Regions from separate parts of the Homo sapiens genome. Here regions 1 and 2 are each linked to region 3. The links are contacts of gene promoters, found by promoter capture Hi-C in human tissues and cell types (Jung and others, 2019). All regions are on one chromosome and are shown on one strand. The core of a region is centred on a gene start or on the middle of the fragment in contact, and the rest is flanking DNA. Distances in the headings are between cores, read along the strand shown.

What was found. The method cuts DNA at HindIII sites, captures the fragments that hold promoters and counts their contacts. A contact is called where the count stands out against the background at its distance.
Region 1: a contact is called between a fragment that was not itself captured here and the fragment with the promoter of CSNK1G1 in region 3, in 1 of the 25 tissues and cell types used here (dorsolateral prefrontal cortex).
Region 2: a contact is called between a fragment that was not itself captured here and the fragment with the promoter of CSNK1G1 in region 3, in 1 of the 25 tissues and cell types used here (aorta).

The regions. Positions count from the first base shown.
Region 1 is chr15:64,212,570-64,216,595 of GRCh38, reverse strand. It overlaps CSNK1G1 (casein kinase 1 gamma 1), which reads left to right. Exons shown (of 12, transcript NM_022048.5): 5 at 1-34; 6 at 2,472-2,706. Among named protein-coding and RNA genes, the nearest start is that of PPIB, 52 kb to the right of the region's middle. The HindIII fragment of the contact is 4,787 bases long and covers 1-3,643 here.
Region 2 is chr15:64,182,528-64,186,304 of GRCh38, reverse strand. All of the region lies in intron 10 of CSNK1G1 (casein kinase 1 gamma 1), which reads left to right. Among named protein-coding and RNA genes, the nearest start is that of PPIB, 21 kb to the right of the region's middle. The HindIII fragment of the contact is 3,297 bases long and covers 1-3,270 here.
Region 3 is chr15:64,353,701-64,357,599 of GRCh38, reverse strand. It overlaps CSNK1G1 (casein kinase 1 gamma 1), which reads left to right and starts at 1,427. Exons shown (of 12, transcript NM_022048.5): 1 at 1,427-1,612. RefSeq lists silencers at 1,492-1,541, 1,652-1,711, 2,102-2,161. The HindIII fragment of the contact is 13,823 bases long and covers 1-3,899 here.

The sequences.
Region 1 (4,026 bases), core at 1-2,500, 140 kb after region 3:
TTTGAAGACGGTGTTAATGATAGCCATCCAGCTGGTAAGTTGGAATTGCTCTTCTAGAAGAGAATAAGCTGGTTCCTCAGCCACATCCTTGTGGGCCTTTTGGTGATTTACTAGCCGTAGCAACACATCAAGAATTAGTACTCACAGGCTTGATGGCATTCTGGGAAGCTGGCTGGGGCAAAAAGGGTAAATTCAGAGAAGTCACACTACATCTGCAATTTGCTCTATTTTAAGACTTTGCACCTTGGAGCAATGCTCTGCCCTTAACTGAAGAGGAAGTATATAATTTAGATTAGGGAGAAAGAGGTCGATTAGATGGAGTTGTAAAAATGTGAATAATTTATTTGATTTTGTTTTGTTTTGTTTTTCATTTTTGAGACAGGGTCTCTGTCACCCAGGCTAGAGTACAGTAGCATGATCATAGCTCAGTGCAACCTCAAACTCCTAGGCTCAAGTGATTCTCCTGCCTCAGCCTCTCCAGCAGCTAGGACTGCAGGTGCCATGCCAGCTCATTTAAAAAAAAAAAAGTGTTTTGGAGACAGACTCCCACTATGTTGCCCAGGCTTGTCTAAACTGGTCTCAAGCAGTCCTCCCACCTCGGCCTCCCAATGTGCTAGGATTACAGGCATGAACCACTGCACCCAGCCTATTTATGTGTTTTAAATATAGCTGTAAGGTTTTGTCATGTCCTATCTCTCCCTTCACTGTTGCAACCAAGAAAAGATTGATGTTATAACCCATTGCACTAACACTCAGATTCAAAATTGTGTGACTAGGAATTTGCTGTAGTTCTCAGGCCTCCAGTTCTCTCAGAGACAAATTTCAGCTGAAGAGGCAGCTCTTGTAGCTCCTACCAAATTATACACAAATACCAGTTTAAGAAGCAGTTCCAACAGTTCCTTTGAGAAGTTTGTCACAAGCCCTTTGGGGAAGGATGCAAATATATCTTCATTTGTTTAAAATGGTAATGGTCTCTCCCACTGTCCTATAAAAATTTGGAAATGTTAGATAATTGACTTTGACTTTTGAGCCCCAAATTCAAATATCTGAGCTTCTCTTTCTCTACTAAAAGTTAGTAGAAAAGGGCTGGGAATGGTGGCTCACGCCTGTAATCCCAGCACTTTGGGAGGCCAAGGTGGGCGGATCATGAGGTCAGGAGATCGAGACCATCCTGGCTAACGCAGTGAAACCCCATCTCTACTAAAAATACAAAAAATTAGCTGGGCGTGGTGGCGAGCGCCTTTAGTCCCAGCTACTCAGGAGGCTGAGGCAGGAGAATGGCGTGAACCCAGGAGGTGGAGCTTGCAGTGAGCCGAGATCGTGCCACTGCACTCCAGCCTGGGCGACAGAGCAAGACTCCATCTCAAAAAAAAAAAAAAAAAAAAAAAAAAGTTAGTAGAAAAGCTTAGTAGATAGAAATACTTAATAAAATTTGAAATGCTTTTATGATTATTATTTTTGGTTATATTTAACTTAACATAAAAACTATAGCCCTGGCCAGGCATGGTGGCTCGTGTCTATAATCCCAGCACTTTGTGAGGCTGAGGTGGGAGGGTCACTTGAGGCCAGGAGTTTGAGACCAGCGTAGGCAACATAGACCCCATCTCTACAAAAATAATCTGAAAATAAATTTAAAACAACAACGATGAACTGTTTCGGCCAGGCATGGTGGCTCATGCCTGTAATCCTAGCATTTTGGGAGGCCGAGGAGGACGGATCACCCAAGGTCAGGAGTTTGAGACCAGTGTGGCCAACATGGTGAAACCCTGTCTCTACTAAAAATACAAAAATTAGCCAGGCATGGTGGCATGTGCATGTAATCCCAGCTACCCGGGAGGCTGAGGCACGAGAATTGCTAGAACCCAGGAGGCTGAGGCTGCACTCCACCCTGGGTGACAGAGCAAGACTCCGTCTCAAAAATAATAATAATAATAATGAACTGTTTCCCTGTCTCTGCTGCTAATTAGCTATGTGATGTCAGGCCAGTATTAACTTCTCTGGGCCTCACAACATCGAAAACTGGGTTGGGTAGTCTTGTCCAAATAAGCATAAGAAGATGTGGGCAGAAGGTGAATGTAGCAGTGGCATTTGTCTCAAAGGTCACCAACAGTTTGATATCCTACCTGGGAATACTTCTTTTGTCTCAAATGCTTAATTTTCTGACGTAGCATATAAACAACTGATTTCATTTGTCATTTGCAAATTGTGACATTATGAGGTAAAATTGAGCTATCATTTTAGCAGACCTGTACTATCCCACTTTTTTTCCTAGTCTTGATATTTGTTGTGTACGTATTTATAGCAAAATATTTTTTTGTTTACAAGTCAGTGAAGTGACTCAGGGCGGTGAAAGGAGATGAATTTTACTGTTATTTCAATAATTAAAACCTTGGTCTGGCTAAAGAAACTGTTTTGATGTATTTTCCTGATATACTTCTTTACAGTCTTTCTATCATTTGTTTCTCTTTCAGCTTTCTCGAATGGAATACGTGCACTCAAAGAACCTCATTTACCGAGATGTCAAGCCAGAGAACTTCCTGATTGGTCGACAAGGCAATAAGAAAGAGCATGTTATACACATTATAGACTTTGGACTGGCCAAGGAATACATTGACCCCGAAACCAAAAAACACATACCTTATAGGGAACACAAAAGTTTAACTGGAACTGCAAGATATATGTCTATCAACACGCATCTTGGCAAAGGTGTGTTTTTTTCTGTTCCATGAAAGGGGCGAGTCATTAGAACAGTTTATTATTTCTGTAACATTATATCCCCATTGTGCATTACAACTTGTGGTTTTTATTGTTTCACAAGGTTGAGTGATTTTTATACATGAGAAGTTGAGATGGTAAGTTAATGACTTTTCAAAGAATCCTATAGACTATGCATAGGTTCTTAATTCTTTACACTGTTTCCAAATGTTTAGTTTCTGAGCAGTGTGAGTACTTGAATTATTGTAAAAAGAGGATAGCATTTTAATGAGTTTAGTAATGAATTTGGTATTTACTTATGTATGACCCTATATATGATAGTCCTGAAGAGGACATCAGGCTGGGTCAGCGGTGGGGAAGAGTGCCTCACTAAAAATGGAGTAGACTTCTGTTCACTGCACATAGTTCTGCACAGAAGTCTTCAAGGAAGAGCTTCTGTCTTATTCAGTGAAAATATACTTGGTTTACCATTAGTCTTGCAATTTACTCAGGATAAACAACCTGCACAAATATTGTTAAATGCTCTAATCAAGGCAGAAGACCTTACCTGTGAGGAACTAGCCCAAGGGGGAGAGTATTTGTCAGAGAAGCCTAAGGAACAGTGGGGAGACCAAGCAGGCAGAGCCCTAGGCTTATCCACTTCAAAAAAGCCTCCCTTTTTTATGTTTCATATATTGGGCTTCCATGGAAGATTCTATTTGAAGAAAAGACTCCTAGGTGATTGAAAAAAACATGTTTGAAAATCAACATTCTAGAGAGTAGACAAGCAGAATATTCTCAGATTCCATACTCCTAGGCAGAAATAATTATAAAATATTCTTAAATATTAGTGAACTATTGCACACTAAGATGTATTTTATTTTATTTATTTTTTTGAGATGTAGTCTCGCTCTATCACCCAGGCTGGAGTGCAGTGGCACGATTTCGGCTCACTGCAACCTCTGCCTCGCGGGTTCAAGCAATTCTCCTGCCTCAGCCTCCCGAGTAGCTGGGATTACAGGCATGCATCACCACACCTGGCTAATTTTTGTCCTTTTAATAGAGACGGGATTTCACCATGTTGGCCAGGCTGGTCTTGAACTCCTGGCCTTAAGTGATCTGCCTGCCTCGGCCTCCCAAAGTGCTGGGATTACAGGTGTGAGCCACCGTGCCCAGCATATTTATTTTATTTTTAGAGACAGAATCTCACTCTCACTCAGGCTGGAGTGCAGCAGTGTGATCATAGCTCACTATAACCTCAGTCACCTGAGCTGGAGAGATCTTTCTCAGCCTCAGTAGCTAGGGTTACAGGCGCATGCCATCATGCCCAGC
Region 2 (3,777 bases), core at 373-2,872, 170 kb after region 3:
TCCATCTCTACTAAAAAGTAATTTTAAAAAATTAGCTGGGCGTGGTGGTGGGTACCTGTAGTCCCAGCTACTTGGGAGGCTGAGGCAGGAGAATCACTTAAACTCGGGAGGCAGAAGTTGCAGTGAGCTGAGATTGCGCCCCTGCACTCCAGCCTGGGCGACACAACAAGACTCTATCTCAAAAAAAATAAAAAGAAAGGAATATCTGGGATCCAGGAAACCAGAGATCCAGCACAGGAAAGAAACAAAGGGAATCCCTAATATAATAATAAAGTTAGGAGATCCTGGGATCTGTACACCAATAGAAGAGAGCAGCTTGTTCAAAACAGAGCTGCAAGAGCAGCTCTTTGGTATTTTCCTTTTTAACATTATGGTTTATCCTTGTCTTTTTATAATTACAAAATAAGCATATTTCTTTTTCTCTCTTTTTTTTTTTTTTTTTCGAGATGGAGTCTGGCTCTGTCATCCAGGCTGGAGTGCAGTAGCGCGATCTTGGCTTACTGCAACTGCTGTTTCCCGGGTTCAAGCGATTCTCCTGTCAGCCTCTAGAGCAGCTGGGATTACAGGCACGTGCCACCACACCCAGCTAATTTTTGGATATTTAGTAGAGATGGGTTTTTGCCATGTCATCCAGGCTGGTCTCAAACTCCTGACCTCAAGTGATCCACCTGCCTTGGCCTCGCAAAGTCCTGGGATTACAGATGTGAGCCACCGTGCCTGGCCTCGTAAAGTGTCCTTTAGAAATGGATCCAACTGAGGTGTCTTTGGCAACTCTTTTGAAACATGCAACTTCCTCTACTCCCTATAAACTAAGTTTTACCAGCTTCCTTGGCACTTAGATAGAGGACAGGCAGTTACACCATTTACCTAATACTATGTTCAGCTCTGCTGCTCCTCATTACTTTGGCCTCTTTGGGCTGACACTGTTTTTAGCATACCTTTTGCAAACCAGATTAACAATACTTTCCTAACACAACAGATGTCCACATATTTCTGAGTTGTCTCACTTGCCAGAGGTAATGTAGTAAAATCATGTTTGGCCTAACCTGGGTGACTTGCAGACACCATGACCCTGGGAGGGAGTGCAGAATCTAAGACAAGAAAAGTTTGCTCTGATAAGGCACATGAAGGCTCCTGTTCCAACATATTTAATGGGCAGACCCCCATGGTTCTCATCCTTCCAGTATTTCCACAGATCTTTTATGTGTGGAAGGCCTAAATGCAAGAAGATAATATATTTTCCCTTTCAAAAAGATTCCTCTAAAGTTGTCTGAATTAAAATGTTTAGGGAGCTTTTAGAAATGTTCAGGACCAAGTAAGGACATAAGACTTAGAATGACACATGAGTTGAAGTACTGTTTCCTTTGGTACACAGCTCTGATTTCTCCTCACAGTGACATTTTGAGAAATGAAACTAATAACCCAAATTATTGAGACTCCTAAAAGGGATATTACCAGGTCTGAACGTCAAAACAGTCCTTCATCTTAGTCTTTCTCATGAGTAATGCTTTAAGATATTAATTGGTCTTGTTTGGTATAGCCAGAGTAATGAGCGATTAATTTTAATAGTGATTAAAGCAAAATAAATGTCTATTTGAAGTATGCAAATCTTTTTTTTTTTTTTTTTTGAGACAGAGTTTCGCATTGTTGTCCAGGCTGGGGTGCAGTGGCATGATCTTGGCTCACTACAACGTCCGCCTCCCAGGTTCAAGCAATTCTTGTGCCTCAGCCTCCTGAGTAGCTGGGATTACAGGCGCCCGCCACCACGCCCAGCTGATTTTTTGTATTTTAATAGAGACGGGGTTTCACCATGTTGTCCAGGCTGGTCTCGAACTGCTGAGCTCAGGCAATCCACCTGTCTCGGCCTCCCAAAGTGCTAGGATTACAGGCACGAGCCACCGTGCCTGGCCGCAAATAAAGCTTTTTATAATGAAGCTTATTTTTTATTATCTTTTATAATGACATTATACTAAAAATTTATTTATTTATTTATTTATTTTTTGAGACGAAGTCTCGCTCTGTCACCCAGGCTGGAGTGCAGTGGCATGATCTCTGCTCACTGCAAGCTACGCCTCCCAGGTTCACACCATTCTCCTGCCTCAGCCTCCCGAGTAGCTGGGACTACAGACGTGTGCCACCATGCCCGGCTAATTTTTTGTATTTTTAGTAGAGACGGAGTTTCACCGTGTTAGTCAGGATGGTCTTAATCTCCTGACCTCGTGATCCGCCCACCTCGGCCTCCCAAAATGCTGGGATTACAGGCGTGAGCCACTGCACCCGGCCATAAAGTTATACTAAAAATTTAATAGAAAAAAAATACCAGCCAGATCACTTGGGGTCAGGAGTTCAAGACCAGCCTGGCCAATATGGTGAAACCCCATTTCTACTAAAAAATACAAAAATTAGCCAGATGTGGTGGTGCATACCTGTAGTCCCAGCTACTCGGGAGGCTGAGGCAGGAGAATCGCTTGAACTCGGGAGGTAGAGGTTGCAGTGAGCCAAGATCACGCCACTGCACTGCAGCCTGGGCAACAGAGCGAGATTCCATCTCCAAAAAAAAAAAAAAGAAAAACATAAAGATAATATTGTTTAAAATGTCAGTAATTTGTTATTCATAAGATTCTTTTTAATTCTTTAAAATTTATTTTCTAAACATCATTGTATTTAATTCCCTTCATATTTATGAAGTTGATAGGATCATGGTCATTTGCCTTGTCTTATGGAATTAGAAAATAGGGCTCACAGAGGATGTTAATGGTAGAACAAGGCCTAGAATCCAACTCTTCCATCACTTACACAGTGTTTGTTCCACTGCCTGCAGTTCAGTAGTTTGACAAACCAGACCTCCAACCTGAAATAATTAAACGGATGCTGTGAAGGCCCAGATGTGTAGCCTTTAAGTCTTAGGTATGTTTTTGGTACAATTAAGTTTAAAAGTAGAGAATGGAGGCTCTGTTTATGTCTCATTCATTTGAGACCACATGCTCATTGATACAGACAAGATGTCTAGTCTGTAAAATGGGGATAACCTCTTATTCCTTAGATTGCCCAAGGACAGTGCTTATGGCCCAAGTGGCAATTTGTAGCGAGGAGAATTTAGGAAGTATAAGCCATGTGAAACGCTGTGAGCAGGCCCCATGACCCAGAGTCACCAGGTAATTCTCAGTGGTGATGCTTACTAATGTTTCATTCGTGTGAGTAGAAGCCAAGACATTTTATTTAACGTCTTGTCTAGTTCCTGAATTGTCCACTAGAAACTTACTATGTTTCCTGTAACCTTTGTGCTCACAGAATGAGTTTACCAGTATTATCACTGGTATGCAGCCAGAATATGTCCACAAGAAGCAAATGAAGCACTGAGGAAATTAACAGGATAGCATTAGAGTGAGGAGCTGTGGTTTTCCAATCCATATACCCTCCTTCCTCAACTTTTTGGTTTTGCTGGTTTTTCTTCAACTTTTTGTATTGAAAATTTCAACTCTACAGAGAAATCGGGAGGGAAATGCAATAAACTCTTGTATATCTTTAACCTTGCTGAACGAATTATTAAGATTTTGCCATATTTGCTTTAAATCTATGAGTGAAAGTGTGTGTGTGTGTTTGCTTGCTAAACCATATGAAAGTAAGTTGCAGACATCATTATATCTTATCCCAAAGTACTTCAGCCTGTATCTTCTAAGAACGAAGACATTCTAAGAAAGTTAATTTCATAATATCTAATATATAGTTCATGTCACATTCCACCTAATTCCAGTTGTCCCCAGAATTAATATTGTA
Region 3 (3,899 bases), core at 178-2,677:
CCGCCTCCCGGGTTCCCGCGATTCTCCTGCCTCAGTCTCCCGAGTAGCTGGGACTACAGGCACACGCCACCACGCCCAGCTAATTTTTGTTTGTTTGTTTATTTATTTATTATTATTTTTGAGACGGAGTCTCGCTCTGTCATCAGGCTGGAGTGCCATTGGAGTGCAATGGCACGATCTCGGCTCACTGCAATCTCCGCCTCCCGGGTTCAAGCAATTCCCCTGCTTCAGCCTCCCGTGTAACTGGGACTACAGGCACGTGCCACCACCCCCAGCCAATTTTTTGTATTTTAGTAGAGACGGGGTTTCACCATGTTGGCCAGGATGGTCTCCATCTCCTGACCTCGTGATCTGCCCGCCTCGGCCTCCCAAAGTGCTTACAGGAGGACTACAGGCGCGAGCCACCGCGCCCGGCCAATTTTTGTATTTTTAGTAGAGACGGAGTTTCACCATGTTGGCCAGGATGGTCTCCATCTCCTGACCTCGTGATCCGCCAGTCTCGGCTTCCCAAAGTGTTGGGATTACAGGTGTGAGCCACCGCACCCGGCATATTTTGAGTTTTGAGTGGAGGATTAGACAGTCTTCTTCCTTCCCAAATTTGATTATGGGCTCCCTTTAGCCTTTTTCTTTGTTTTCTGTCTTTTTTCCACCACCACCCCGCCCCCGAGGCGCAGTCTCAAGAGGTCCTGAGAACATGTGCCCTGCTCTCTGTTTTAAGGATTAAAATAACTGTCGAGTTACATTGAATCTTTTTTGCCTATTCCATTTGGCTAGGTTAATTCCAGACCTTACACAAACATGTGCAGCTCTTACAAAATGTAGGTGAAGACAACATTTTTCTAACCATTCGGCTTCATGGGCTGTCACAGGAGAACTAAGTGCATGAAAAACCTTTCACAACATTGAAAGAAATTTTAAAAATCTGGTTGAAACACAATTAAAAATCCACAAGAGGGAGATGCTTGCTAAACCGTCAGAAAATAATTCCCTCGAGGGACCTGAGAGAGGAGCCTGGAGCCTTAGGAACAGCCACTGGGTCAGCCACGGGATTAAGGGTGGGAGGGAGCAGGAGTATATAGAGACGGGGGCTTGGTGGAGGAGTACAGTTGAAGGGAAAAGCGGGATGGGTTTCGTGCCTCTGGCAGCGAAGCGTGTACTTGGTCTAAGATCTTGAGCAGAAGGTAAGAGCGTGTTGCCAAAGCAGAGCTCAGTGCTCCCGATATATCTTCTGGTAGTCCCAGAAGAAATGGGGGTGGGTTGCTTTGAAGGCACTTCCGCTTAGCAACCCCACGCGGTTGCTAAGGAGGGGGCAGCCGTGGGGATAACCCGGAAGTGATGGTGTCAGTTTAACGCTGCCTGCCCAAAGTTTGTCCTATTAGGCCCGCCAGGGTACTCTGCGACTCCGGGACGAGGGCGGGGCCGCGCTAGTGGTTCCGGTTCGGCTCCAGCCGCCCCTCGGCTCCTCGCCTTCCCCCTCCCGTCCGCCTTCTCCCCTCCCTCCCGCTCCTGGGAAAGAGAGAAACCACCGCTGCGGGTGGGTAGAGAAGCACTTGGCGCCTCGGGGAGGGGACCGCGCCCGCCTCATTTGCGCCTTGCAGCACTGCTGGACCAGGTATCTGCCCGGCTTCGTCGGGGTTCTGTAGGCTGAAGTCTGAGGGGGTGTGTGTGTGTCTGAGGGGGTTGGTGGGGGGCCCTTTCCTGGGCGTGGGTGGGGGACGCCGTGATCCCGGGTGGGGCGCAGGCTGGCGTTTGTGTCTGTGGAGGGTTGCGGGGGCGGAATGGAGGGGCTGAGGGACACAGCGGGTGGAGAGTTTCGGTTAGCGGGGTAGAGGTAGGCGGAGGAGGCGCCCCTTCCGAGAAACTGACTCTAGCCGGTGTGGACCGGGAGTTTGCCACCTGGAGGGCTTACTCTGAAAGGGGGAGCATCCCCCGGGAGCCAAAAGGAGGGCACAGATCTCGTCAGGGTGACTGGGGCTATCCCGTGCTTCCATTGCCCTCTTTCCCTACCCACCCCGCTGGGACAGAGCTGGACTTCGAAGGTTGTGGGGGTTCTGAGTCGACTGGGTACCGCGGGGAGCCGCCCTTGGCGGAGCTTAGGGCACAAGAGTGGGTAATGAGACTTTCCTCTACCCAACTTCCGTACGCTTCCCCCACTTCTTCCTTTACTGTTTCCTCGCCCCCACGTCCTACAGGAGCAATGTCCCCCAAGTGGGCAGGCATCACAATGTAAAAGAGAGTGGAACTGGGTTTGTTGCCCCTAAATGACACTTAAGATGTTTGGAAAGTGCCTGAATGACATATTCAACCAAGTCTCCCAGCTCGATATTAATTCCGGTATAAATTACCTTAGAAAAGTGGAATTCTGAAAAGCATTTAACAATAGGCTAGTCCAGGTGTAGTCTTGTGTAGTAGATGTACGTGTTTATTTAAAAAGAATGGACTGGGGAAACCATATAGATGTATCACAGGTCTAGGCAAGACATGTTGAGGCAAGGCTTTTGCAGCCTCTTTCTTACCTGCCAGTAAACCTGTCCTAATTTAAATGAAGTAGAAAGATCCTCTTCATTTTTGTTTCAATCAGTGACTGAATACTAGGTGCTGTGTAGTGATGTCTCAGAACAGATATGTGAATTTTCAGAGAGAGAATGAATGTTCTGCTGTTGAGCCTGTGTCTTAATCTTTTAAGGAGATAATTGCGGTCAAGTGGAAGTATTGACTTTCAGGCAGATAAATCTTGGGTTGAACCTAGACTATGCCAGTTGCTAGTTACTGACCTTGGGCAAGTCATGGAACCTACCAGAGCTTTTGTTTCTTCATAAGTAGTATGAGTTAAAATTCTTACCTGTATTATAAGTAACATCCCATTTTAAACGGAACCACCTTTGAATTAGAAGATAAATTATTACCATTAATCATACACAGTCAAGGCAGCCCAGTTTTGTGAAACGAGGTTTGAGATAGGAAAGCAACCGGATAATTTTGAAAAAAAAATGCATACAATAGGACTTTCAGTGTCTTCTCGAAATTGATCGTAGGTAGCATGAAATTCAGTTATCAGTAGTTTCTTAAAATTCAAAATAATAAAGTAGAATATGGCCCATTTATTGAAATGAGCAAAATATATTTTATAGATTTTTCTCAGCTACACCATATTGGTGTTTATAGTATGGATTAACACGAAATACATGAAAAAGTAATGTATGTAAATCTTAACATCACATGTCTCTTTAAAGAGAATTAAAATTGGGGTGTAAAATAGAAGGTACTTGTTTTTTGTTTGTTTGTTTGTTTGTTTGAGACAGAGTCTTGCTCTATCACCCAGGCTGGAGTGCAGTGGCACGATCTCGGCTCAGTGCAACCTCTACCTCCAGGATTCAAGCGATTCTCCTGCCTCAGCCTCCTGAGTAGCTGGGATCACAGGCGCCTGCCACTACACCCAGCTAATTTTTTGTATTTTTAGTAGAGAGAGGGTTTTACCATGTTGGTCAGGTTGGTCTTGAACTCCTGACCTTGTAATCCATCCGCCTTGGTCTCCCAAAGTGCTGGGATTACAGGTGTGAGCCACCGTGCCCGGCCTACTTGTAATTTTAAGATAAAAATCAGCAGCATCAGCAGCACCTCTCATCTCAGTTAGATTTATGCTACTAGAAAAACTTATATAATATTCAGAAAACAAAATCGAATACATTTCTGCCTTTAAATCATTCCTTATTACGATATAGAAATAAATCCAAGAAACATGAAGTCTGTTTTTTATTTATTTTTAGTGACAAGGTCTTTCTCTGTCACTTAGGCCAGAATGAATGCACTGGGGCAATTATACTCACTGCAGCCTCAAACTCCTGGGTTCAAGCAAACCTCCTGCGTCGCCCTCCCAAAGTGTTGAGATTACAGGTGTG